Regions from separate parts of the Homo sapiens genome. Here regions 1, 2, 3, 4 and 6 are each linked to region 5. The links are contacts of gene promoters, found by promoter capture Hi-C in blood cells and fetal thymus (Javierre and others, 2016). All regions are on one chromosome and are shown on one strand. Each heading gives the region's core, a stretch centred on a gene start or on the middle of the fragment in contact. The rest is flanking DNA. Distances are from core to core; before and after follow the strand shown. Region 1 overlaps TRAPPC8 (trafficking protein particle complex subunit 8). Region 2 holds the start of SLC25A52 (solute carrier family 25 member 52). Region 3 has its middle 55 kb from the start of SLC25A52. Region 4 has its middle 26 kb from the start of SLC25A52. Region 5 holds the start of RNF138 (ring finger protein 138). Region 6 has its middle 34 kb from the start of SLC25A52.

What was found. The method cuts DNA at HindIII sites, captures the fragments that hold promoters and counts their contacts. A CHiCAGO score of 5 or more calls a contact.
Region 1: a fragment that was not itself captured here is called in contact with the fragment with the promoter of RNF138 in region 5 in 4 of 17 cell types (total CD4 T cells, naive CD8 T cells, total B cells and 1 more); the score reaches 7.9 in total CD4 T cells.
Region 2: a fragment that was not itself captured here is called in contact with the fragment with the promoter of RNF138 in region 5 in 1 of 17 cell types (total CD4 T cells); the score reaches 5.1 in total CD4 T cells.
Region 3: a fragment that was not itself captured here is called in contact with the fragment with the promoter of RNF138 in region 5 in 2 of 17 cell types (non-activated CD4 T cells and total CD4 T cells); the score reaches 5.6 in non-activated CD4 T cells.
Region 4: a contact is called between a fragment that was not itself captured here and the fragment with the promoter of RNF138 in region 5, in 8 of 17 cell types (naive CD8 T cells, total CD4 T cells, monocytes and 5 more). The highest score is 7.8, in naive CD8 T cells.
Region 6: a contact is called between a fragment that was not itself captured here and the fragment with the promoter of RNF138 in region 5, in 1 of 17 cell types (M0 macrophages). The highest score is 5.2, in M0 macrophages.

What each region holds. Positions count from the first base shown.
Region 1 is chr18:31,831,224-31,835,774 of GRCh38, reverse strand. It overlaps TRAPPC8 (trafficking protein particle complex subunit 8), which reads left to right. Exons shown (of 29, transcript NM_014939.5): 28 at 3,602-3,691. Among named protein-coding and RNA genes, the nearest start is that of SLC25A52, 73 kb to the right of the region's middle. The HindIII fragment of the contact is 1,655 bases long and covers 2,139-3,793 here.
Region 2 is chr18:31,760,321-31,764,974 of GRCh38, reverse strand. It overlaps SLC25A52 (solute carrier family 25 member 52), which reads left to right and starts at 4,095. Exons shown (of 1, transcript NM_001034172.4): 1 at 4,095-4,654. The coding sequence starts at 4,314. The HindIII fragment of the contact is 1,431 bases long and covers 1,604-3,034 here.
Region 3 is chr18:31,813,113-31,817,866 of GRCh38, reverse strand. No RefSeq gene overlaps it. Among named protein-coding and RNA genes, the nearest start is that of SLC25A52, 55 kb to the right of the region's middle. The HindIII fragment of the contact is 2,516 bases long and covers 745-3,260 here.
Region 4 is chr18:31,732,843-31,737,493 of GRCh38, reverse strand. No RefSeq gene overlaps it. Among named protein-coding and RNA genes, the nearest start is that of SLC25A52, 26 kb to the left of the region's middle. The HindIII fragment of the contact is 1,897 bases long and covers 1,058-2,954 here.
Region 5 is chr18:32,089,285-32,093,610 of GRCh38, reverse strand. RNF138 (ring finger protein 138) reads right to left here and starts at 1,737. Exons shown (of 8, transcript NM_016271.5): 1 at 1,376-1,737; 2 at 725-911. The coding sequence starts at 834. LOC124904278 (a long non-coding RNA gene) reads left to right here and starts at 1,666. Exons shown (of 2, transcript XR_007066327.1): 1 at 1,666-1,756; 2 at 2,109-2,336. It also overlaps a transcript of RNF125 not described here. RefSeq lists a silencer at 899-1,318 and an enhancer at 1,989-2,038. The HindIII fragment of the contact is 10,157 bases long and covers 1-3,973 here.
Region 6 is chr18:31,792,412-31,796,716 of GRCh38, reverse strand. No RefSeq gene overlaps it. Among named protein-coding and RNA genes, the nearest start is that of SLC25A52, 34 kb to the right of the region's middle. RefSeq lists an enhancer at 4,087-4,146. The HindIII fragment of the contact is 1,707 bases long and covers 1,681-3,387 here.

The sequences.
Region 1 (4,551 bases), core at 1,717-4,216, 260 kb after region 5:
CTTCCATATCAACAAGGATGATTCACAGTCCCACAGAGAGAGTGAATAACTGCTAAGCAGTACTCACAGTTACCACAGTAACCAAGGTTGAGAACCATTGAAATGAAGGATCAAGTGACTGGGTGTCTGTGTAAAACTCAAAAACAGATGAGAGAGTATAATTGAGAAAGCTAGAGAGTTGGGAGATGGTGGTCAAAGTGGGGTGACCGAGTATTATGTTAGGGATAGTTGTCTAATGTGATGGGAAAAAATTTCATGGTTTGGTCATGGAAGTTGTGTGGCTGAGTTTTGAATAGTACTGAAGATTATGGAGATGATAGGTCCAGGATTTGGGAAGGTGCTGAATAAGTCATATACCTAGACAGTGAAGTTGTCCAAAATGATGACAAGACTTGGAGTTGAAGGAAGAAAACAAACTTCCCTGACACTTTTAAAATTATGCCAATAGATAGTACAGAGGAGGGTAGCGAGAGAATAGTGTCTTACTAGGTGTATGCCTCTGCTTGACCGATACAGCAGATGAATTCACAAATGGGAGGTAAAGCAGATGTTCAGACTACACATGCTTCATCTTTACCTCAAATATTTCAGAATATCCATTTCTTCCCCTTTCCCCCAAAGAATTCTCGCTGTACTGAGTTACTGTCACTGTGTTTGTTAGAATGGGAACAGAAAAAAGAATACAAACCTTAAGGTAGTTTATGATGAAAAAGTGGAGGCATCTTTACAGGAGAGGTAGTAGAAAGAAATCATTAAGAACTACATCAGCCACCCTGAGGTATGGAAGATGTTGGAAGAAATACAGCATCTATTGTTGAGAGGACAATACAGTTAAAGATAGATGTAGAAACACAAAGAGAAGAGATGGAGGATATAAGGAAGCATTCTTAATTTAATGGGGGTTTCAGAAAACAAGTAGAAATGTGAGGAAATGGGACAGTAGGAGGTTTGGTCATGGTAGTGGGACACAGAGCAGTAGAGGTATGAGAATAGAAGAAAGAATAGGTGACAGGAGATAACAAAGATAAAATCATACTATGTTTAGCTGCCATGAGCATAAATTGTTATATTAAATAATGTTTATGGAGCTTTTGAACATGTGCTAGTCACCATTCTCAGCACTTAACATGTTTTACCTAATCACAACAAACCCAAGAGGTAGAATCAATTATTATTCTTTGCAGTTTACAGTTGAGAAAACTGAGGTACAGGTAGCAGTCTGACTCTAGAGCCCAGCTTTTTCACTGGATGCAGTGGTGGGAGAATAGTTGTCAGAACTTTGATTTCTCAGCCCTGTTTGTGGTTCATTAGATTAGCATTTTAGAAAAACTAATGTGTAAAGCAGTTTTCAAAATGTGGTCCCAAGACTGGACCTGGTGGCACACACCTGTAATCCCAGCACTTTGGGAGGCCAAGGCGGGCGGATCTCCTGAGGTCAGGAGTTCAAGACCAGCCTAGTCAACATGGTGAAACCCCATCTCTACTAAAAAATAAAAAAAAATTAGCCGGGTGTGGTGGCGAGCGCTTGTAATCCCAGCTACTGGGGAGGCTGAGGCAGAATAGCTTGAACCTGGGAAGCTGAGGGTGCAGTGAGCCAAGATCGTGCCACTGCACTCCAGCCTGGGCAAAAAGAGCAAAACTCCATCTCAAAGAATAAAAAACAACAACAACAACAACAACAACAACCAAAATGTGATCCCAGACCAGGAGCATTAGTATTAGTATCATCTGGGAACTTAGAAATGTAATTTCTGTTTTTTGTTTTTTTTTTTTGAGACGGAGTCTTGCTCTGTCACCCAGGCTCGAGTGCAGTGGTGTGATCTCGGCTCACTGCAAGCTCCACCTCCTGGGTTCATGCCATTCTTCTGCCTCAGCCTCCCGAGTAACTGGGACTATAGGCACCTGCCACCACGCCCGGCTACTTTTTGTATTTTTAGTAAAGACGGGGTTTCACCATGTTAGCCAGGATGATCTTGATCTCCTGACCTTGTGATCCGCCCGCCTCGGTCTCCCAAAATGCTGGGATTACAAGCGCAAGCCACCGTGCCCAGCCTAGGAATGCAATGTTTGGGCCACACTCCAGACCTATGGAATCAGAATCTCTGAGAGTAGGCCCAGCAGGTTTTTTAAAACAAGCTTGCCAGGTATTTCTGGTGCATACTCAAGTGTGAGAAACATGGTTAAAGAATAGATTGCATTGTGGTGCTAATTAAGAGGCTCTTGCAGTAAAATGAGACATGAGACTTGAACTTGTAAGGAAAATGAGATACAGTGAAGTAACCAGGTTCCAGAGATGTGTGGGTGAGAGAATTGGCAGGAATTTGTGAAGAACATTGGGAGTGGAGGTTAGTGACTGTTAGGAGGAATCAGTATGATACTTACAGTTTGCTGGGGTAGATGGGGGTGCTCTTCACTGGAATGAAGATGATGAGTTTCACTTTGGACCAGGAGATATCCACATGTTCACATTTCTTCTTCTACTAGAAGCATTTGTATAAGGTACAAAGAATTTGACATTTGAGGATCAAATGGGAACAGAATAGCATAAGTTCCTGAATTTTTACTTTGGGCTACAAATTATGCAATTGGAACTTAATTTAATGAGATGCTTCAGACTGACTGGACACCTACCCAGTAGTCTTTGTTGCCCTTCTTGCCACATGAGAAGTTTGTGGGGGAAGTTAGGGCATAGCACCAGTACAACCTGGTATGTATTTTAAATCATCTTAGTTTTTGTTTAGGGAAACCTGTGACGTTTGCGGTATTGTTTAAAAAGTATTTCTCAGTAAGAAGATATAAAGTTTCTGAAAGTATAAAATATATTATCTGAGCAGAATTTAAAAGTTAATGTGTATGAACTTATACGGTTACTATTTTTTCTTCTTTACTATCTTTGTGTTTATAGAGTAAAAGGTAGATAATAGTATATAACCCTGCTTCATTTGTACATGTTATATTCATTTCTTGCATTCTTGATTTGAAATCTGTACCACTCTATTCGCATGTCCTCTTCTATCACTGCCTTTTTTCCTATGCTTTAGTAATTTATTAATTATGGTATCAGAAACTAGGCTACCTGAGCAAAATGTATCCACTCGAAAGAGATTTCCTCATAACTATATAGAAATCATTCTTATATTCTTCAAAACATGATGTTGTGCAAATTTGATAGAAAAACAAATGTCAGTCTAGGCCAAGTTCTCAAAATTAAGTAATTTTTAATAAGCACAAAGACAACAGTATTAGTTGTTGGCATTTTCATGGTTTACTTTTTCTTCATTGATCTAAGTTGAGATTTTGTTTTTCATTTTGTGAAATATCTAGAAACATTTTAGTTGTTTTTAGAAGATTAATAAATGAAAATAAAATAGTTCTGTGAATGTATATATTCTGATATTTAATATTGTCATTGTATTAATATATTTTTTATTTACAATATAATTTGTCTTGAGTGATTTTGGAACTTGAGCTTTTTCCTTCTTGAATCTGATTGTTTTTAAGGAGCTTATGCTCTGTTACATAGTCTTAAGTGTTATTTTCAGGAAAATTGCTTTTAAGAAGAAAAAAATATATAACTTTTTTGTTTATTTTTCTTCCATAGCCTTTGTTTAGTACCAGTCACTCTTTTACTTTCCAATTGTTCTAAGGCTGATGTAGATGTCATAGTTGATCTTCGGCATAAAACAACAAGGTAAAGATTTGTTTAGTGCAAGGTTATTTGATTTGGGAGCAATTTAATATTTTGAAATTATGCAAATAATTACCTAACATGGATAAGAAAGTTACTCAAGCTTGTCCTGGTTTTTTGTTTGGTAATATAGAAGGCTTACAGATGTGTTACAGAGGCTTTAAATATTAAAGATTTTTTTTTCTTGATTATAAAATAGTACTTAACAACAAAAAAAAATCCAGATCCACAGTCCCACATCAGATACTCCTAGAGCCAAATGCTTTTGGGAATTCAGAAATTTTTGAATTTTTGGAAAAATACTATAAAGCGTATACTTAATATTTTTGTATAACACCCCAAACAGGATCTGGGACAGTTCTCTGAAATCCAAACACACACCTATATATGTGATTTTGTGTATCATAAATTTATTAATACTTTATTGGGTACTGGGTTTTCCATTTTTCAATATTATAAACAGTTTCAATATTAAAAGCATTCATGTACAGACACTTATATATGGCTAACTAAGGAGTTAAAAGTTTAGGTTTGAAATCAAGTTCCAACATATACTAACTCTTAGGGCATTAAATGAAATAATCCACTTTTAGCATTGTGCCTAGAGAATAGAAACTATTAAATAATAAATGTTAGCTGTTATAGTAATGATGTTGCTATTATTAATAAACAGTTGGCTTCATAAAATAATTTTTAGAAATAGAATTGTTAGATGAAAGGGATGTTTGTTTTCTTCTTGAGATGGAGTCTTGCTCTCTCATGGGCTGGAGTGCAGTGGTGCAATCTCAGCTCACTGCAACCTCCGCCTCCCAGGTTCAAGTGACTCTCCTGCCTCAGCCTCCTGAGTAGCTGGGATTACAGGC
Region 2 (4,654 bases), core at 1,070-3,569, 330 kb after region 5:
TAGCCTTCGGTTAGGTCCTACCAGAAAAACAAGTTTTGTTAGAAATGGGCAATCTGAAAGCAGCAAGGGAAGAAAAGACAGCTTTGCTACAGGAGGCCCTTTCTTCCTACAGCCATCAACTTAGAAACTTAGATGTCCCTGGCTGGGCGTGGTGCCTCAAACCTGTAATCCCAGCACTTTGGGAGGCTGAGGCTGGGGGATTACCTGAGGCCAGGTCAGTGTGGCCAGCATGGTGAAACCCCATCTCTACTAAAAACACAGAAATTAGCCAAGTGTCTTGGCATGTGCCTGTAGTCCCAGCTACTTGGGAGGCTGAGGCAGGAGAATCGCTTGAACCTGGGAGGTGGAGGTTGCAGTGAGCCAAGATGGTGCCACTGCATTCTAGCCTGAGCAACAGAATGAAACTCTGTCTCAAAAAAATTAAATAAATAAAATAATAGAAAGTTAGATTAGACGTCTCTGAGCTTCGCTGAATTGAAAAGTGGGGTTCTCTGTCATCAACTAATATTACTTCTCACAAAGCCTAGGGTGTGGAAAACATATCAGAAGATAAGATAGGAGTCAGAGAGAAGCTTCATTCCTGTTCTTTTAGGCTTCTCCCAAACATCTTGCAGACATTTAGCAGCCTGAGAAGGGTGACAATGGTCTCCATTGTAAAGAGTCACCCATCAGACATAACCAAGGGGCAAGGGCCAAGTTATCTGTGCTTTGAGGGTGCTGGTTCTGCCCTGGGGCAGCCAGCATGGACAACACTAGGTTGAGGACTAGGTGGGATAGCAGAGCATTAGGGCCTGTGCTGAGACAAAAATCCCGCAATAAAGGGTCTGGAATCTAGGACTGTGACCAAACATATTTGACTTGGGCCATCGGTCAGTAGAGTTGCCTAATTTTTTTTTTTTCTCTTTTTTGAGATGGAGTTTCGCTCTTGTTGCCCAGGCTGGAGTGCAATGGTGTGATCTCAGCTCACTGCAACGTCCGCCTCCTGGGTTCAAGTGAATCTCTTGCTTCAGCCTCCCAAGTTGCTGGGATTACAGGTGTGCACCACCATACCCGTCTAATTTTGTATTTTCAGTAGAGACAGGGTTTCACCATGTTGGCCAGGCTGGTCTTGAACTCCTGACCTCAGGTGATCCCCCACCCCAGCCACCTAAAGTGCTGGGATTACAGGTGTGAGCCACCGCGCCTGCCTGAGTTGCCTGATTTCAAACTGTATAGTTACATTGCCCAAGAAACTGCAAGCTTGGACCAAAAAAAGGTGGCAATGGCTCAACTTCCAAAGCAATTTTCCAGCTCCTCTCATCTGCACCAATGGCAGTGGGCTGTGTGGCTTCAGAGGGGAACACCTCCTAATACCTTTCTAGGTCCCAGTGGTTTGGGTGGTGGGCGGGATGGGAGGTTTACCTCCTTCTGCCCCATTTACCTGACAAGTGCAGGATGAGGCAAGTGACTCAGGTTTGATTAGTATCATTTTCCATCCCCCTGATCCCAGTGATTGGTTCAGACCAACTAACTGCAATGAGACTCAATCCTAGGGTTGTTTTGCAGGAACTGTTGGGAAAGTGAAGCACTTCATCCTTCAGTTGCTAAATTAGCAGAATAAGCTTCAGGTAGGATGTTACTCTGTAGAAAGAGCTGACTGAAAATGAAGTTAAAACTGAGGAATGTATAGCTGGGCAATATATACGTGGAGAGGGATGTTAAGTACTTGTGATGGTGGTTGAACCTCTAGGATCCAGCAATGCCTAAAGTGATTGCTACTTCTGGATTTCTCAACTTTTTCATTACACGAACTAATACATTTCTCCCCCCACTTCACTTTTTATTGTTATTTTCTCACTGAAACTGCCTTTCTTTCCTCTCTTGCAAAGGAATTCACTTGCCTCATCTGGCACTTGGGTGCTGAGGACAGAAGGAGGTAAGTACCCCCCAAAATCAGCAGGATCCAGAAGGGTATTCGGAAATGTTCTCCTCTGTGGCCACATGGCCCACTCCTACTGGTGCAAATGAGAGAAGCTGGAAAATTGCCTTAAATGTTGCCCAGATGCCACCTTTTTAAATCCTTTCCTGATTTCTTACCTCCTTCTCATCTTCCTTCTTCCTTCTCCTTTCCTTACCCCCTAGATTTGCTTGCTTCAGTTGGAATGGTATTTTTGGCTCTTATAACCAAGACCCATGAGTAATACAGAACTCATCAACACTCTTTACACTCTTAAGCAGTTGGAGACCTAACCAGATGCCTGGACACTGGGGACACAAACTGGAATAAAGTTCAATGAGAAGTGGACTGTGTCTTCAAGAAGCCCTCAGCATTGTGAATCGTGGACATTGTACAGTGTGACACGTGCCACACTCACAGTGTGTATAGGGTGTGTTGTGGAGAAGGGGTCCTCATTTGGACTAAGGAGTTAGCGAAGGCTTCCAGAAGCTGAGTAGGAACTAGAAGTAAGGACATTTCAGGCAGAGGCAATAACCGAATAAAGACAAAGGAGTGTCAGATGGCACATTATTCTTCATTCTGGAGACCCCGAGTAGTTTGATATGGCGGGGACGGAAGGTGCCTTTAGAAATGTGAAGGCAGATGGCGCCAAGGGTAGGAAAACGTCAGACCATGGGGGACCTTTGTCCTTCAGGTGTAAAATCATTTAAAGATTTAAGTGAGGGAAAACGTGCTCACGTTTGTTACTAAGATGACTGCTTTGGCTGCAGTGTGGAGGATGGATTGAAAAAAAGCAATTGTTATCTTACCATAGGATCATGAGAATCTCTCTTCAATAAATGCGAGAAAGGGCAGTCTGTTTTTCATGATATACTGATTGCCAGCATCTTGACAGAAGGGCTATGGCAAAACCGAGAAAACACTATCAATATTAGGCAAAAAAGCAAAACAAAACAAAAGAAAGGAAAACAAAGATCTCTCTAGCCCCAACAGTGCTAATTTTTGCATACCCAGCAATTACATTTCTAATGAAAGTCATTGCTGCCAAAATCAATCAGTATAAATGTTGGAGACTCCCTTCTCTTTCCGTGAAAAGCTTTTACTATTTCGTTTCACTAAAGCTTAAAGAGAACTTCGGGTTTATGGTTCATTCTAGAGCGATCCACCATAGGCGTGCTTTAAGATGATGGTCAGGGAAACTGTCATTTAATCTCAAGGAAGCTGTCATTTGATTCTATTCAAAAACTAGGCAGTACACATCAGCAGGCAATGTAGTCTGATGCTGTGACCTACTTTGTTGGCTGAAGCCTTCCACTGTTCCTGGAAGGGAAGTTATTTTTGTTTCCTTTCATCTCTCATTCACATACATGGAATATACACATTGGTTACTCTAGAAAACACATGGGTAGTCCTAGAGCAAAATGGGTTTCAAGGTTATTTAATTTATGCCTCTTAAAACCTCAGACACTTTCCTCCCAGTAAAATTTCATGTGGTATACAGAACTTTTTTTAAAAAAAAAATTCATCTTCTCCTTACTTCTCCTTACCACCTACTTTTTTCTTTCTTTTCTTTTTTCTTTTTTTGGGTAGAGACAGGGGTCTTGCTATGTTGCCCAGGCTGGTCTCAAATTCCTAGCCTCAAGCGATCCTCCCGTTTTGGCCTCCCAAGGTGCTGGGATTACAGGTGTGAACCACTGCACCTGGCCTACTTTTTTCCCTTTCAAGAAAATACAGTACTCCAAGGCCTGAGTGACTATGAAATTTCAACTTTTGTGCCTTTGTACTCTTAGATACCATGTTTGTTTTGTTCTTCTGCAAGATTACACTAAAATCCACTTTTCTTGTATGTATACACTATTTAAAAAGTTTCACAGTCTCTTAGGGAAGCCACTGGCAACACATCTTCACAGTGTCCGTGGAGAAGGTTATGTGATTTAAGAAACACTTGTGTCTATACCATTTAATATTTAGGAATTTGTTGATTTTTTAGGATCTTTGGATGAATGAGTTTTTAATTTTATCCAGCTTATTTAGAAGAAATTGCCATGCTTGCTTTAAAAGGGTTTCTTCTCGGATCCCAGCGGCGCCCAGAGCGTCACGCTGCGCCCCCGCCCCGGGGTCGGTCATGGTCTGCGCCTGCGCAGGTCCCGGCTTGCTCGCAGTCCTGCGGGGCGCCGGCGGCGATGGGTTGGGGAAATGGACGCCTGGAGAACGGAAATCCAGTTATCAAAATGGACTCGGGAAGAGAGAACCTAACAGAACAATAACAATGGAAGAAATTGGGAACATTATCACAAAGCTATCATCCTGCCAAACTCCAGGCTCAGATGATGTCACAGGTTAAAAAATGCCCTTCATGAGAAAGATCTTAAGCAACATGATAGATTCAGAAGCTCATGAAAAGAGGCCACCAATACTTACATCTTCAAAACAAGATATATCACCTCATATTACAAATGTTGGTGAAATGAAGCATTACTTGTGTGGCTGCTGTGCAGCCTTCAACAACGTCGCAATCACATATCCCATTCAGAAGGTCCTCTTTCGGCAACAGCTGTATGGCATCAAAACCCGGGATGCAGTACTTCAGTTGAGAAGGGATGGATTTCGAAATTTGTATCGTGGAATCCTTCCCCCATTGATGCAGAAGACAACTACGCTTGCACTTATGTTTGGTCTGTATGAGGATTTATCCTGCCTTCTCCGGAAGCATGTCCG
Region 3 (4,754 bases), core at 753-3,252, 280 kb after region 5:
AGACTAAATGGTGCCAGACATAAGACCTCCCCCTCCTGATGATGGCTAGCCTTTCCTCCTTTATTATCTTGCATCTAACTCAGATCAGATGGTGCGGAAGACTCCATGATTGTTATATCCTCAATGTGGAATGTTAAATATACCTTTCCCAAAAAGAACACCACCTCAATTAATCAGATTACTGTAACTGTGTGCTAGCCTTGTGTGGAAAATGTTGAAACATTGTTAAGCTTCCCAAACCTTATTTATATAAATGACCCCCAAAACTTCTCCACTTTGGAGCACTGGCTTCCATTCTTTGGAATCTGTGTTCCTGGATGCCTATCCTTAAAATTTGTGCTTGACTAAATGCTATATTTAACCATATTTCTTGAATCTCTTTAAGGTCGACACTCTATAGCAACCACCGCACTATTTTAAGTTACCAATTCTGTTCAAGATTCTAGGCTTTATTTTGATTGTAAACTTGGGGCTTGGCACATCAACTGTGAGATTTGTTTCTTTCATATCATTCCTTAATACTTAGAACAATGCAGGACACATACTAGAAATTCTTGTTGAATTGAATAGAAGAAATGAACTGATGAATGAGATATTGGGTACCATAACTCTTTTGACCAATGCCCTCTGATCACTTTAAATCTCAAGAAGAGCCTCAATTTCAATAATTAAAATTTCCAAGAACTTTAATAACCAGCATTCTGAATTTCATAAAGTTAACATTGGCTTCTCTCCTGGGAAGCTTTCAGTTTGGGAGGAAGATGGCCAACTTCTCCATTTTTCTACTGTGTGCTTCTCCTTCCTGTGTTAATATACTTGGCTGACTCTGAATCTTCCAGAATTTGGTAAAAGTACCTAAGTAGGAGTAGCAAGGGTGTAGGAACGCCTTACCTCACCGGTACTGTGATAACCTGGCATTGATGGTCTCTGGGCACCAGGGAATGTTTTGTGGGTTCTTGAGAGATCTCCCATTACTGGGAATCTTCCACAAGGTGGAAGCCATGTGTCGATGATAGAGCAACAATTTAGTAGAAGCCCATCGTCCCGATGATTGTGGAGTCTACATAGTTGCCTGGGACTGTCTATCTGGACTTTTGTGCAAAAGAAGTAAAGTTTAATTTTATTAAACCTATTGATTTTTTTTGCTGAACATACCCTAACTAATAAAACTATGTTGCCATTGCCAGTAAGGTGTGTTGTCCCCTCTGAGTGTTTAAGATCCTAGCAGGAAGCCATGTTGTTCATCATGTTATACCTATGGATTTTGTGCAGTGCCTGGGCATAGACTATATGTTCAAAAATATTTGTTTGATGAATAGATCAACCTGATATTTTTATAGGGGCAGGCTGGTTTGATGTGCCACATTTTATTATTGAAACCCAATTTTTAATACAGCAGTTAATTTGGCTGAGTTTAGTATTGTTATTGTTGACCACTTATCCCCTCAATTCTCGTCTCTCGGAGTCATTTTTTTTTTTAATACTTTAAGTTCTGGGTACATGTGCAGAACGTGCAGGTTTGTTACATAGGTATACATGTGCCATGGTGGTTTGCTGCACCCATCAACTCCTCATCTACATTAGGTATTTCTCCTAATGCTATCCCTTCCCTTGCCCCCAACCTTGCCCTGGGGGAACGCCCCAGTGTGTGACGTTCCCCTCCCTGTGTCCGTGTGTTCTCATTGTTCAACTCCCACTTATGAGTGAGAACATGCAGTGTTTGGTTTTCTGTTCCTGTGTTAGTTTGCTGAGAATGATGGTTTCCAGCTTCATCTGTATCCCTGCAAAGGACATGAACTCATTCTTTTTTATGGCTGTATAGTATTCCATGGTGTATATGTGCCACATTTTCTTTATCCAGTCTATCGTTGATGGGCATTTGTCCCAGAATCTTTTTTTTTTTTTTTTTTTGAGACAGAGTCTCACTCTGTCACCCTGGCTGGAGTGCAGTGGTGTGATCTCAGCTCACTGCAACCTCCCTTTCCTGGGTTCAAGCGATTCTCCTGCCTCAGCCTCCCGAGTAGCTGGGACTAGAGGTGTGCGTCACCACACCTGGCTAATTTTTGTATTTTTAGTAGAGTTGGGGTTTCACCATGTTGTTCAGGCTGGTCTCTAACTCCTGACCTGGTGATCTGCCCGCCTTGGCCTCCCAAAGTGCTGGGATTACAAGAGTGAGCCATCACACCCCGCCCAGATGATGTTTTAGAAGTCTAGTCTTTGGGCTGGGCGCGGTGGCTCACGCCTGTAATCCCAGCACTTTGAGAGGCCGAGGTGGGTGGATCACAAGGTCAGGAGATCGAGACCATCCTGGCTAACACAGTGAAACCCCATCTCTACTAAAAATACAAAAAATTAGCCAGGCTTGGTGGTGCATGCCTGTAGTCCTAGCTACTCAGGATGCTGAGGCAGAAGAATCGCTTGAACGCGGGAGGCAGAGATTGCAGTGAGCCGACATCGCGCCACTGCACTCCAGCCTGGGCAACAGAGTGAGACTTCATCTCAAAAAAAAAAAAAAAAAAAAAGAAGAAGTCTAGTCTTTGACCAGGTTCCCCTCATCATCCACCAGGATACTCACAGCCGTCCTGGTTGTTCTTGTCTGGGCAGCGGCTGTGCTGGCTTCCAGGGTCACCTCTGGCCACTGGCAGGTAACAGGCTTCTCTTTGGCCACAGCTTTTTTCATGCTGCTTTGTCCTGACTGTGGCCAATCTAAGCCCTTCCTTAAGGCCCCAAATCACAGCTAATACTATAAGCTGCAGCACTGAATAATAATTAAGCAAAGACTTGGGGTTAACAAGGACACCAACTACAGTCTGTTTTCTAAATGAGTGAAATTGCCCAAATAGCAAAATTTCCACATTGAAACAAAAGTTTAAATTTCAGTCTTCATTGTTCCATTTGTCTCAATGGGCTTTCACTGGCTGATTATGGGGCAACATAGATTCAAACTTTGGTTTCTAAAATATTTATAGAATATCTATTATAGAGGGCTGCAAGCAAACCTGCCTGACCTTCACTGTAGGGGGATATATTAGCTTTGTTATACTGGACAGGAAGCAACCAACTGTCAGTTTTAGAGAGAGACAGATCTCAACCTTCCAAGGCTGACACAAACATCCAGGAAAAGGTAGTCTGAAACAAAATGGAAGTTAATGCTTTGGCTCACAAGAGATGCAGAAACGCAAGAGCTTCATGAAGAATTATGTCCCAACAGAAAGCAGCCATTATATCCCTTGAAAATACCTTTGCACATCTGAGAAGCTTTTTTTTTGAGTAATGTTAAGAGTAACAAAACAATTTCAGAATGCAACCCACTTGGAAAATTATCCTTAGAGTAAAATCTTAAAGGAAAAAAAGTGTCATATCAAGAAATTGTTAAGATTGCTAGCCAAGAGCCAAGGAGTAAGGATAGCCTCAGAAACCATTTTTACATACATCCTCTAGTGTAACATCATAAACAGAAAGTCTGTGCTAGACATTTATTTCTTGGTATTACACCACAACCGTCTGATGATAAGCAGAAATTATTTGCAGATCAAGACAATTGTTCTGCAGTCTGGATGTCCTCAGATGACTGATAAAGCAATTCTAGGGTTCCCAATATTCACACAAACTTTTCTCTTTGAGGAGGCTGATACCTGGTTCACAGCTTATTTCCTTTTTATTATTCACCATTTTGGCTTTGCAGGCATTCAAGACGTTCTATATTTAGTGTAACCGTTCCCCCTTATGAGATGGTGTGATATTATAAAGGATTTTTAACTCTTTGCAGGAAAATCAGTTTTACCGTTAGTCCCTTATTTATGACAGGGATATCACAACTCTCATATTTTGTAGTATTTTTAATTATTTCTTTTATTTTTTTCTGGGATGGAATGGTATGATAGGAAACATACCATTTTAAAAAGAAAGAAAAGCTGATCTTAATTGAAAAAATTAAACTCTGATTTATATTAACTTCTAAGTGATTGTAGGGTTGGGATTTAAAATTACATGTTCTCCATTTGTGCATTAGAAAATGTCATGTGTGTGTGATACTTCCTAGTTTATAATATTAAAATACACATATGTGTATATTTAGTTAGTGATCCATAAAAAGAGCTACTTTGAAAATTAAAATTATTTGTAATGATCAAAACAATGTCCCACTAATAAAATTTTATACAAAGGAAGCTCTCAATTTGTTAATTTAAATTAAGTTCACATTTTCACCTGTTAAATTTTCTTTTTTTAATTTTAATTTTTTGTTTATTTATTTATTTTTATTATACTTTAAGTTCTAGGGCACATGTGCACAATGTGCAGATTTGCTACATATGTATATACATGTGCCATGTTGGTGTGCTGCACCCATTAACTCGTCATTTACATTAGGTATATCTCCTAATGCTATCCCTCCCCCCTCCCCGCAACCCATGACAGGCCCCGGTGTGTGACGTTCCCCTTGCTGTGTCCAAGTGTTCTCATTGTTCAGTTCCCACCTATGAGTAAGAACATGCAGTGTTTGGTTTTTTGTCCTTCCTATAGTTTCCTGAGAATGATGCTTTCCGGCTTCATCCATATCCTTACAAAGGACATGAACTCATCCTTTTTTAATGGCTGCATAGTATTCCATGGTGTATATGTGCCACATCTTCTTAATCCAGTCTATCATTGATGGACATTTGGGTTGGTTCCTAGTCTTTGCTATTGTGGATAGTGCTGCAATAAACATACATGTGCATGTGTCTTTATAGCAGCATGATTTATATCCTTTG
Region 4 (4,651 bases), core at 757-3,256, 360 kb after region 5:
CCATTTAAAGTATGCTGTGGGCTCCACGTTAGAGAAAAAGTGAAGACCACATGGAGGTGAAAACCTGCAGTTAGAAGTTTCAAACTATGCTCAGATGGTCTTTATTTTTAATAATGATTTTTTTAAAAAATTTGTGAATAATAGATTCTCTTTTTCATTTAACTTGTAACAGAAATAAGCCTCAATGAAACAATTTGGACCTGAATTTTTCATGCTGAGGAATAGGCCATTTTGCTAATTCCATAATCATATCAACAAATAAACAAATTAGTGTTTATTCAATTTGTTAGAAAATTTGGGATCTCACTTGAGCAGCTGGCTGTCTTTGCTTGCCAAATTAATTGTAATGAATGATCTAATTTCTTAAGTAAATGAATTCGAAAAAATGTTGGATTAAATAGGTTTGTGACTAAGTGGTAGAATTATTAGGTTACCCTATGTTCTGTTAACAAGTATCCTGGAAACTGCATTTTGGAGTCTGGAACTCTATTAACAAATGTCACTTTATAGTAAAGTGTCCTTTGGTCATTAGTATACTCCCAAAATTAGCTGAATGAAGCAATTTGAGTATACTCTAGCAGTTTGAACTTGAGGGCCAATGCTATATTTGATACGTAAGCATGGGACTGGATTTTCACTTCCTATTTTTGAAGGCATGTCTTGGCAGCACAGGCCCTATGCACTTGGCCCATCCAGTTTTGATCATATTCAGCTGTTCCCATAAACAGAGAAAGCCCCATGGCCTTTCTGGAACAGCCTGTAGTAATAAGACATGACCTTAATATGTGCTACTCTCAGATCACGTCTTTTGAAGAACCTAAGCACATTTATAATCAAAATAGAAAAGGATATCAAACAGGCTTTTCCCCATAGTTAAACTACATATTTATTTCTCTTACTTTACCACATTATCTGTTATACTCCCTGCAATGACTGTTGACCATTAGGGGTAGTAGACAGCATTCTTCTTTTTTCTATTTTAATGAAAATAATTTGTGTTTATTTGAAATGTTTATGATTGATTTGTAGGAAATAAACTTCAACATGTTTGGAAGCTTCTCTTTATCTTAAATGAGTTTTAAAGAATGCAAAAGTGTCTGGTTGAATTTGTAGCTTCAGTTATTATGATCATGTTTTTATTCTCTTTCCATTTCTTAAAATATTAAATCATGTTCTTCCAGTGCTCGAACTATTCTTGAATTCCTAAATTAAATCCTATTTTGTTAAATTGATTATTTAATATATTGTTTGATTTGATTTGCTGGTTAAAAAAATATTTCTGACCTATATTCCTAAGTAAAAGTGATATTCCGCTGGGCATGGTGGCACACACCTGTAATCTCAGCACTCTGGGAGGCCAAGGCAGGAAGATCACTTAGGCCAGGAGATTGAAACCAACCTGGGCAACACAACCAGACTCTGTCTCTACAAAATAAAAAGTGATCTTCAGTTGTCCTGTGTGTGTGTGTTTACTTTTTATTGATTTTTTCCCCAGCTTCATTAAGATATAGTTGACAAATAAAGTTATATATATTCAAGGTATACAATGTGATATTTTGATATATGTATACACTGTGACACCATTAAACCAAGCTAATTAACATATCTATCACTTCACATACTTAGTTTGTGGTGAGAACATTATAAAATCTATTCTCTTAGCAATTTTCAAGTAGACAATACATTATTATTAACTATAGTCACCATGCTGTACAAGAGATCCCCAGAACTTCATCCCTCTGTCTAACTGAAAATTCGTACTCTTTGACCAACATTTCCTCATTCCCATCCCAGCCCCACTCTGCCCCAGCATCTGGCCACCAACATTCTACTCTCCACTTCTATGATTTCAACTTTCTTATATTCTACATATAAGTTAAATTATGCAGTATTTGTCTTTCTGTGCCTGGCCTATTTGACTCAGCATAATGTCCTCCAGGTTCATCCGTGTTGCTGCAAATAACAGGAATTCCTTCTTTTTGCCTTTTTTTTTTTTTTTTTTTTTTTTTTGAGACGGAGTCTCGCTCTGTCGCCCCGGCTGGAGTGCAGTGGCATGATCTCCGCTGACTGCAAGCTCTGCCTCCTGGGTTCATGCCATTCTCCTGCCTCAGCCTCCTAAGTAGCTGGGACTACAGGCGCCTGCCACCACGCCCAGCTAATTTTTGGTATTTTTAGTAGAGATAGGGTTTCACCCGGTGGTCTCTGTCTCCTGACCTCATGATCCGCCCACCTCGGCCTCCCAAAGTGCTGGGATTACAGACGTGAGCCACCGCACCCAGCCAGGAATTCCTTCTTTTTTAAGGCTGAATGGTATTCCATTGCATAGATATATCCCGTTTTCTTTATCCATTTATCTCTTGACAGACACTTAGGTTGATTCCATATCTTGGCTATCATGAATAATGCTCCAATGAACATGGGAATGAAGATATCTCTTTGACATAATGATTTCATTTACTTTGAATATATACCCAGAAATGGAATTGCTGGATCATATGGTAGTTCTATTTTTACTTTTTTGAGGAAGCTCCATACTGTCTTCCATAATGGCTGTGCCAAGTTACAGTCCCACCAACAGTGTGCATGGGTCCTGTCTTCTGCACACCCTTACCCACACTTACTATTTTTTGTCTTTTTGATGATAGCTATACTAACCAGTGTGAGGTGATATCTCTTTGTGGTTTTAATTTACATTTCTGTGATCATTAGTGATGTTGAACATTTTTTCATATACCTGTTGGCCACTTGTAAATGTCTTCTTTTGAGAAATATCTATTCAGGTATTTTGCCTGTTTTAAAATTGAATTATTTATCTTTTTAATATTGAGTTGTTTCAGTTCCTTATATATTTTGGATATTAACCTCTTGTCAGGTATGCAGTTTGTAAATATTTCCTCCCCTTTGGTAGGTTGCCTTTTCACTCTGTTGATTGTTTCCTATTCTGTACAGAAGCTTTTAATTTTGATGCAATCCCATTTCTCTCTTTTCACTATGTTGCCTGTGTATCAAGGGTCATATATGACCAAAATATCATCTCCCAGACCAATGTCTTGGAGCTTTTCCCTTATGTTTTCTTTGAGTAGTTTTATAATTTCAGGACTTACATTTAAGTCTTTATTTCATTTTGAGTTGATTTTTCTTTATGGGTGAGACAAGGGTCTAAGTTCCTTCTTTTGCATGTGGACATCCAGTTTTCCCAGTACCAATTATTGAAGAGACTGTGCTTTCTTGAACGTTGTATGTTCTTGGTACCTTTGTTGAAGATCAACTGAACATAAATGCATAAACTTATTTCTGGGGTCTCTATTATATTCCTTTAGTCTATGCATTTGTTTTTATGCCAGTACTACGCTGTTTTGATTACTATAGCTTTGTAGTATAATTTGAAATCAGGTAGTATGAGACCTCCAGCTTTCTTCCTTTTGCTCAACATTTCTTTGACTATTTGGAGTCTTTTGTGGTTTCATAGGATTCTCTTTCTATTTCTGGGAAAAATGTCATGGAATTTTGATAGGCATTGCATTGAATCTGTAGATTGTTTTGGTGCCAATGATCATTTTAGCAATATTAATTCTTCCAATTCATGTACATGGGGATATCTTTCCATTTATTTGTGTCTTCTTCATCCTTTCATCAGTGTTTTATAGTTTTCAGTGTACAGGTCTTTCATCTCCTTGGTTAAATTTACTCCCAAGTATTTTTTTTTTTTGGATATACTGTAAATGGGATTGTTTTCTTGATCTCTTTTTTGGATAGTCTGTTGTTAGTATATAGGAATACTGCTGATTTTTCTATGTTGATTTTGTATCCTTTAACTATACTAAATTTGTCTATTTTAACAGGTTTTTTTGGTGGAGTCTTTAGGATTTTCTGTATATGTGATCGTATCATCTATAAATAGAGATAATTTTACTTCTTTTTTTTCCAACTTGGATTCCTTTTATTTCTTTTTCTTGCCTAATTGTTCTTGCCGGGACTCCCAGTACTATATTAAACAGAAGTGGTAACAGTGGACATTCTTGCCGGGTTCCTAATCTTAGAAGAAAAGCTTTCAGGTTTTCACCATTAAGGAGGATATTAGCTGTGGGCTTGTCATATATGGCCTTGATTATGTTGAGGTATATTCCTTTATACTTGATCTGTTGAGAGTTTTTATTATGAAAGGATATTAAACTTTGTCAAATGCTTTTTATATATCTTTGAAATGGTCGTATAATTTTTTTCTTTATTCTGTTCATGTGATCTTACATATTTGCATATGTTGAACCACCCTTTCTCTGGGATAAATCTCACTTGATTATGGCATATGATTCTTTTAATATGCTGTTGAATTTGGTTAGTATTTTGTTGAGGATTTTTATATCTATGTTTATCAGGGATATTGGTCTGTAATTTTTTTTGCAGTGTCTTTATTGGCTTTGGCATCAGAGTAATAATGGCCTCCTAAAGTGAGTTTGGAAGTTTTCTCTTTCCTTCAATTTTCTGGAAGAGTTGGAGAAGGATTAGCATTAATTCTTCCTTAAATATTTGGTAGAATTCACCAGTGAAGCTGTTGGGTCCTGGGCTTGTCTTTGTTGAGAAGTTTTTGATTACTGATTCAATTTCTTAGCTCATTATAGATCTGTTCAGATTTTCTGTTTCTTCATGATTC
Region 5 (4,326 bases), core at 488-2,987:
GTATTAATCAAGTAATAAGTAAGCAGAAAGGTAAAACAAAGGGGAACGCTCATTTCAATGCCCGAAAATCCTGTCAGTTTTAAGAGACCAGAGAAGAAAACTCATTCTAGATCCCTCTAACACATAGTGGACTGGAAACGAAACAAAACGCTCTCGAGGGTGTTCTGTGAAGCAGGGTTGAGGGGAAGTTACAGAAGAGCTCTTGGACCGAGGGGACGGACCAAGGTTCTGAAAGAGGAAACTTGAAAGCAGGGCAGGTCGCGGGGCGAGCGGGCCCGCGCGAGCACCGCCGGCCGCTTTTGACACTCGACACCCCAGCCTTCACCCGGGTTGCTAAGAAACAAAAAGGCTCCAAGATCCCTGCAATTCCTCCCGGGCCTGGCGGAGACGACAGGGGCCTCCGGGGCCTGAAGACGCCGCAGGGAACGGCCTGGCCACTGCCCCGGGGGCGCGAAAGCCAGGGAGAGCGGGAGAGCGGGAGAGCGGGAGAGCGGGAGAGCGGGAGCTTGGGCTGAGGGGGCTGGACGCGGGGAGCGGGCCCCGAGGCTGAGGAAAAGGCCGCCCCGGGACTCTGAGGGGCGGGGAACGGGACCTCGCGGGGCAGCGACGCTCGGGCAGGCCGCGGCGGGCTCGGTTCCCGCCAGGCGGCAGCCCGGGGTCCCGGGCCGGAGGCCGGGCCTAAGCGACAACCCGGCTCCGCGAGGGGGAGGGGGCGTCTACTCACACGTGCTGACAGGCCGTGGTCCGCACGGGCGTTTTGAGCACCTCCTGACAGACGGGGCAGTAGAAATCATCTTCGGTGTAGGACGTGGCCGCAGAGAGGTCCTCGGCCATGGCGGGGGATGGGGAAACAAGGCGATGGCGACAGCGGCAGCGGCCGAGGTGACGGTGGCGGCCCGGGGCCCGACTCCCTACATGAACCCGGAGGGGGGAGGGGGATCGCATCAGGATACAGCGCGCGCCAGGAAGGGGGCGGGGCCCTGGGTAGGGCGGGGCCGAACGCAGAGACGCTACTGCCGCACGCGCCGGGCAAGAGGCGACCCCTCCCACGGCTCCTCCCACAGGGGGCTGGATGGGGGACGGTGCTTGGCGGGAGGCTGGGCTCGCAGCATGCCGTGGGCCCGCCCCGCTCGCCCCTCACCCCGCCCCAGGACGCGGCCTCACGCTCTAGGCCACGCCCTCACCGGGCTCCAGGCGCGGGCTCGCGCCCCGCCCTCAGCCCCCGTCTTCGCCCAAGGCCTCCCTTTTCACTGCTTTTCCGCCTCTACTCACCCCGACCCCGAGCCCCGAGTGCCCAGCCCGTGTCCGCGGCTTCCTCCCCGCCCCGCTTCCCGGCACCCCGGCCCCTCCACGCTTCCGCCGGGGAGACTCTCACCTAGGAGCCCCGAAGCGGCGTTGTGGACGGAGCTGCTTTTCCTTCACGTGTTCGTAGAGACCCGGCCCAGCGCTTTCCTCGAGCTTCCTGTCCGGCCGCCGCTATCTTCGCAGCCGAGGCCCCGGGGCAAATGGAGGGCGGCGTGCGCTGTGCTTATCGGCCCCTAACGGGGCCGGAGCCGAGGCTCATGGTGCAGGGAGATTCGCCCGCCGCCGCCAGCAGCTCTGTCTTGGCATTGCGCTGCCTACAGCCTACCCGGCCGTCACCGAACGCGGGAGCGCCGGGGATCTGGGCGGAGGAGCCAGGAGAGGCGGGGAGGCACGGGGTGTGAAGTGCGGCCTGTATAGCAACCGGCGCACGGCGCCTTCCGCGGGTTGTGACGTAAGCAGCTGGGCGCCCGCGGTGACACCTGCGCCTCCCCGCCCCGCCTCGCTAGGCCCGGGACCCCAGTTACCTCTCCTGTCAAATACATTGGGCCTTTCAGGAAGTTTTCGTCAATGTTCAAGATTTAGTCTTTACTATTTGCCCTACCAGAATGTTTTGATCTTGTCAAGATGTGTTATAAACAAATATTTGTTACGGGATTTTAATCCTTTGGGGGCAGGATTAAAGTTTCCTTGAGAGGATGTCCACTTTCTCCTTTAACAGCATGACCGATGCTTAAATACGGTCGCAGATGCAGTCTTCTACTACACCTTTGGGTTGATTTTTGATTTTTTCTTTTTTTTTTTAGCTTTGAAGAGAAATGCCGTAGAAGCATGGACGTGGCTTTTCACCAAGGTTATTCACTAATTTAAGTGTTTTTTTTAATTTTATTTTATTTTATTTTATTTTTTGAGACAGGTACTCACTCTGTCTCCCAGGCCGGAGTGCAATTATCTGTACAATTGATAATCTATAAGATGGTCCAACCTGCGTAACAGAGTGAGATTCCGTCTCAAAAAAAAAAAAAAAAAAGAAAGAAAAAAGGCCGGGCGCGGTGGCTCACACCTGTAATCCCAGCCCTTTGGTAAGCGAAGGCGGTTGGATCACTTGAGGTCAGGAGTTCAAGACCAGCCTGGCCAACGTGATGAAATCCCATCTCTACTAAAAATACAAAAATTAACCGGACATGGTGGTGGGAGCCTGTAATCCCAGGTACTCGGGAGGCTGAGGCACGAGAATCGCTTGTACCCGGGAGGCAGAGGTTGCAGTGAGCCGCGATCGCGCCGCTGCACTCCAGCCCTGGCGACAGAGTGAGACTCTCAAAAAAAAAGAAGAACAAAAAAAGGATAAATCGATAAGATGGGATCCACAATGACGTGAAAGAAGCTAAGGAAAATCTGGAACATTATACAGCATCTACAATTAGCTTCAGAGAAAAGAAAGGTTTTATTACCATCCTTTGTTAAAACCCTCCCCCATGGTCTAAATGAATAAACAGAAGCCATTTAAGGGACTATTTAAATCAATTCTGCCATTTATTGTCTATGTTGACATTGGCATTGTTAGGTGTTATGCAGATGTCATGAACTTTGCTCTCAACCTGTTTACATTATTACATATCTATCAGAATGAGAGAGAAAAAATGGTATTTGCCAAAGTATTAAATTTTGCATTAAACGATGGCTATAATGAGGATAGGAAATGGAATGATTAGAAATATATAGAGTTAACAGAAAACTTTATGGAGGAAATGGGTTTTAATGTACATCTCAAAAGCATTGATTCCTAGAATAATAATAATTTGTCCAATGAATAGCTAATTCCCTCTACCAAACTATATTTTGTATTTTTGTTGCTTTTCCTCCTTAGCAGCAAGCGCAGTGGAAGCAAGACAAGAAAGCTAATACTAGCTTCAGATTTCCTGGAAGGAGGAAGAGCACGTGACGAGAGGGGCAGCTAATAGCAGTAGTTCAGGTGCTTTTCACATTCACTTATAAAATGGTTCTTTGAGTTCAAATTTTTAACAGCCCAGAGAAGAAAACTCACTTTTTTTCTTTTTTCTTTTGAGACAGAATCTCACTCTGTCACCCAGGCTGGGGTGCAGTGGAATGATCTCAGCTCACTTCAACCTGCGCCTTCCAGGTTGAAGCAACTCTCCTGCCTCAGCCTCCCAAGTAGCTGAGATTACAGGCATGCACCACCATGCCAAACTAATTTTTGCATTTTTAGTAGAGACAGGGTTTTGCCATGTTGGCCAGGCTAGTCTCGAACTCCTGGCCTCCAGCGATCCGCCCACCTTGGCCTCCCAAAGTGCTGGAATTACAGGCCTGAGCCACTGTGCCTGGCCTACATTTTACTTTTTTGATAATTCCACTCATTTCATTCATTCTGACCATTTAGGAAGTAAGGTGTATTTTCTGTATAATAGTGTTTCCCATTATTCATTGGGAATATCTAACCATAACATTAATTTTGTGACCCTAATTTTATTTGCTTCATTCTTTCTCTGCAACGGCAGCTTTACTTATGTCTAATCCAAACATATTTGTATCACTCCCCCATATATTCTAATAAGTCATTCGGTATACACGTAAGCATATAGCTGGCAATATGTGGAAATCCAGCAAAAACTTGGACATAAGAAAAATATAGATACCCTTGGAAAGTTAAGCTTAAAAAAATAAGTTGCAATTACCAATGACACAATCTTCTTTCTTGGCAACATTTCTGGTGAAAAGCTACTTGATATTTTTATAAGAATGTCATAGATTTACTCAAAATACATTCAGCTGCGTAAATAAAATGTCCTCAGCCTTTGGTCATTAGAAGGGAAAACCCTAGATGTAGACCGATTTGGTAAACTGTGCTGCAATAATTTAAACAGTTCCTTTAAGTTTGGGTTAAACCAGTCAGTCCCTCTCAGTGGGCTTCCCTCAGAATGGCATTTGGGAGAAGGGAAGGGAGGATGATGGGTAGCTGACATGAACTCAAGGCACTATAGGGGAATCTGGCTCCTGAAATCTGCA
Region 6 (4,305 bases), core at 1,285-3,784, 300 kb after region 5:
TTTGGATAATTTTCCAGTAATGACATCAACTAAGTTTTTATATTCTATTGTCTAAAATAAAATACTTAAAGACTTTAGCTTTCTCCAAATATTTTATAGACCAAATAGAGCTAAATGTATTCATTTGTTCTAGCAAATAAAATGCTATGAGAATAAAAATTGATATATTAGACTTCATTTAGGTTGTTGTGAGAATTATTTAACATATATTTTATTATTTTACATGTATAAATTAAAATATGTAAGGTATTTAATATAGGCTCTGGCACATATAGGCTCTTAATATATGATAGATACTTTTAGTTATTATTAAATGACTCCTAGAGCTAAGTGTCTAAGGTCATACAGGTTGTCAGTAGCCAACCAAGTTTAGAATTCAGATCTGCTGATTCCAGTCCTCGTGCTTCCCACCTCACCATGATGATTTTCTGTTGGCTCCTGGGGCAAGCCCCCGCTTCACCTGCTGAGAAAATGAAGTCATAGAATAGGAGCTCAGCCTAAGCGGGGCCTGAGAGTGCCTGGCCCACACTGCCCCTGGGACAGGCGGATAAGACCACAATTAGTTCAGAATTTGAATTTTATTATGGTGGGTACCAGGACCCTCTCTCCCAAAAGTCTGGGACCACTCTCAGGTTTCAGAAATAGAAACAAAATTCTAGGCCCACTCACCAACTGAATGGATCCCCCACTTGCCCAAGGGGACCCCAGAGAAAGCTTGGAAGCTGAGTTCCTAGCCATGATGAGATGAGAGATTGAACATCCCTCATTATACCTCCTTCCTTGCTGACGTCATTAGGGCTTTCTTCCCTGATGGCTAAACAGAAACTAGCCTTTTTGGTTTTTAATTTTTAAAAAATGTTTAAATTTTTATGTATTTATTTAAAGTTTTTAAAAAATACAAGACAGGGTCTTGCCATGTTGCCCAGGCTAGTCTCAAACTCCTAGGCCCGAGCCATCCTTCTTGCTCAGCCTCTCCAAGTGCTCAAATTACAGGTGTGAGCCACCTTGACTGGCCAGAAACCAGCCTTTCTGAAAGACACCACTGCAGATATCAGCCAACAGCCAGATGCTGCCCTTCCCTTTTGCAGTGTTGACACCACAACCAATCAGGCTTCCTTCCTAATGATAGACCACCTACCACAGATTGGTTCTGGCCAGTCCACAGAGGATGCATAGTGAGGGTTTTTGTGTCCTCTACTTTACTTTTTGATGTTAGAGGGCCAAGATCGGATCGTGCCAATGCCGACATTTTTTGGGACCCATGAAGGGGCATGAAGCTCAGCTGCACATGCACGTTTCTCCTCTCATAAATATTCATGACTCCTCCTACAGCTTTTTAAATGTGGGGGGTATTCATATCAGAATTACCTGAAGAACTAAGATATATTTATCTATGGCTAATTGTCCACCCTGCTTGCATAAATTCCTGTTCCCCTTCCCCCTCCCTCAAAGTGTCTGTTTCTGGCTTCTGACTGAAGGCTGTGCTTCCCAGCCTGTCAGAATTGCCACCATACAGGCTGCAAGTCTTGCTGAGAAATTAAGCTCTCCTTTCCAAATTTATGAACCTCCTTATTCTTCAGTTACAGGTTACACAGAGGAGTTTGAGAACTGCCTGACTCATAGAATCACAGATTCTATCCACAGGAAGATTCCTCTAGCTCAATGGGAAGGAACAAAGCTTTGTTCAAAGCTCATCCCTGTGACATAAGAGGACATAGAAATCAGGATTTTTTTTTTATGACTTTGTGTTCTCTCTGGGCATTACCTTCTTTCTGATAGCACATCACATATATCTCACCAGGTGAATCATATGAATTCTGGTTCATACAACCTCATGTTCCAAAAATTTTAAGTGGCTTGGGACTTGGCCGGTAGTGAGGATTTTGAATGGATTAGAAAGTAGTAAAACCTAACAGATGGACGAGGCGTGGTGGCTCACGCCTGTAATCCCAGCATTTTGGGAGGCTGAGGTGGGTGGATCACAAGGACAGGAGATGGAGACCATCCTGGCCAACATGGTGAAATCCCATCTCTACTAAAATACAAAAAATTAGCCAGGCGTGGTGGCACGCACCTGTACTCCTGGCTACTTGGGAGACCGAGGCAGGAGAAATGCTTGAATCCGGGAGCTGGAGGTTGCAGTGAGCCAAGATCATGCCACTGCACTCTAGCCTGGGCAACAGAGTGAGACTCCATCTCAAAAACAAACAAACAAAAAAAACCCCCAAAAATAAAAAATAAAAATTAGCTGGATGTGGTGGTGGGCACCTGTAGTCCCAGCTACCCGGGAGGCTGAGGCAGGAGAATCTCTTGAACCCAGGAGGCGGAGGCTGCAGTGAGCCGAGATCACGCCATTGCACTCCAGCCTGGGAAACAAGTGAAAAGCTGGTCTCAAACAACAAAAACAAAAACAAAAAAACCCCAGATGTAGCAGAAGTGTTCTAAAGCAATTAGCTGAGATATCACAAGCTACAGAAGGAAGGTCATTATGCAAATGCAGGGCCATTAAATGCCAGTCTTTTTAGCCTAATGTCAGAACCTGCCTTATACCCAAAGGATAGGGGGATAGTTGCATGTTTTCTTTCAGCACAATCCACCTCATGCTGTCTGATCTGTCCCCATTAAACCAGGCTAACGGGTTTTTCTTAACAACAAAGACCAGCAGATGGTTTCTGATGTCAATGATGTTCATCTCGTATTCTGGTTTGGTTTGCTTTCACTACCTCCCTTCTCTGCTTTGAAGGTTATTTTTTCCTCAGTTTCAGGGTCAAGGAGACTCATAAAAATATGCAAGGCAAATAATGTTTTTAAAATGTAGCCCATTTTCACCTTTTTTATGTCTCATTGGCTGTAATGTGTGTTTGTAGAGACAAAGTGTATCCATTTTGCTTCACCAGCTAACAATACAAAGAATGATAAATGGCTGTTATTCCTCCTCCTCCTCCTCCTCTTCCTCCTCTTCCTCCTCCTCCTCTTCCTCCTCCTCCACTTCCTCCTCCTCTCTTCCTCCTCTTCCTCCTCCTCTCTTCCTCCTCCTCCTCTTCCTCCTCCTCCTTCTCACAGTCTTCTCTTCTGAGAACCTGGCCCCAGTAGTGTTACCTTGCCTGAGGACTCCTTGCTGAAGGAGGAAAGGAGTAGGTACTGTAATTCTTTGTCTAGTTATTACCCAAATGAAAAATTCCAAGATAAATAGTGCTTGCATCTCAAAGGGTGAAAGGATAGAACAATGGCCTTGTGCTGTTTCTATATACTCTCTGTAACAACCCAGGCATAGGATGGCACCAAATCAGGAGGAATATAAAGGGAAGGTGTTCAAGGCAAGTAGGAAAGTGCAATGGCATGAGGAGGCTTGACAAGAAAGGGCAGACAAAGCTGCGGAGACAAGCTTCTGGTTTGGATCAGCAATCCTAGAGGGGAAATGTCTTTGAATTGGAAGCTGAAGATCTGGGTGCTAGATCAGTTCTATAGTTCTACTAGTACTAAAATCTTGCCTCAGTTTCCCTCAGCAATATAACACCACTATCTTTCCTCAGCATATAAGAGACATATGAAGCCCTTTGTAAACTGTAAAGCAGAATCTAAATAAATATGAAGTCTCAAGAGCCATACACTAGAGATAGCCCAGGTGGGAGCTACCTGTGGAATTAGGAAGCAGCTGTCCTCTGCTCTCTTTTTGCTTTTCCAACCTGCATTCCTTCTTTTCCATAAACCACAGCTTCCCAGAAAAGTACTCTCTGGTGACTGAGTTTCTCAGATTCAGTGTTTCTTCTTCCCAGGCTCTGGGTTTCTTCTTCCTGGGCTCTGATGAATGGCTTCTCATTATCCAATACCCATCTATTACCGTCACATAGACAACATCCTCTGCTCACCTATTCTGTCTCCGATGTGTCCATAGCAGTGATAAAGCTAGTCTCCTTTTGTGTCCAATCAAGCATCAGTTGCCCTTATGTGTTATTCCTGTTTATGGCCTGGGAGAAAGTATAACCTCTAAAGTAACCTTTGAACAGGGTGAATCACATCTGTTATGTTGTAATTTATTGGTTTAACACTCAGGAGTCAATATTGTATCTCCTTAAAATTTATCTGGGCACATTTCACAGTCACATCCATATACTTGGCATCTTTAGAAGGTGGAAGTGTCAAGAAAAGGGAGGTTTTAAGACTGAGGGTAGTGTTGGCTTTTGCTATTGCAGTGTCTGAGCCGTGAAGCCACATCACATGGTGAGTGTGAGGGTTCCTCCCCTGCGGGGAATACCTGTTTCTACTGCCAGTCATCCTGAGGTAGGACGGAGTGGGAGAGGACAT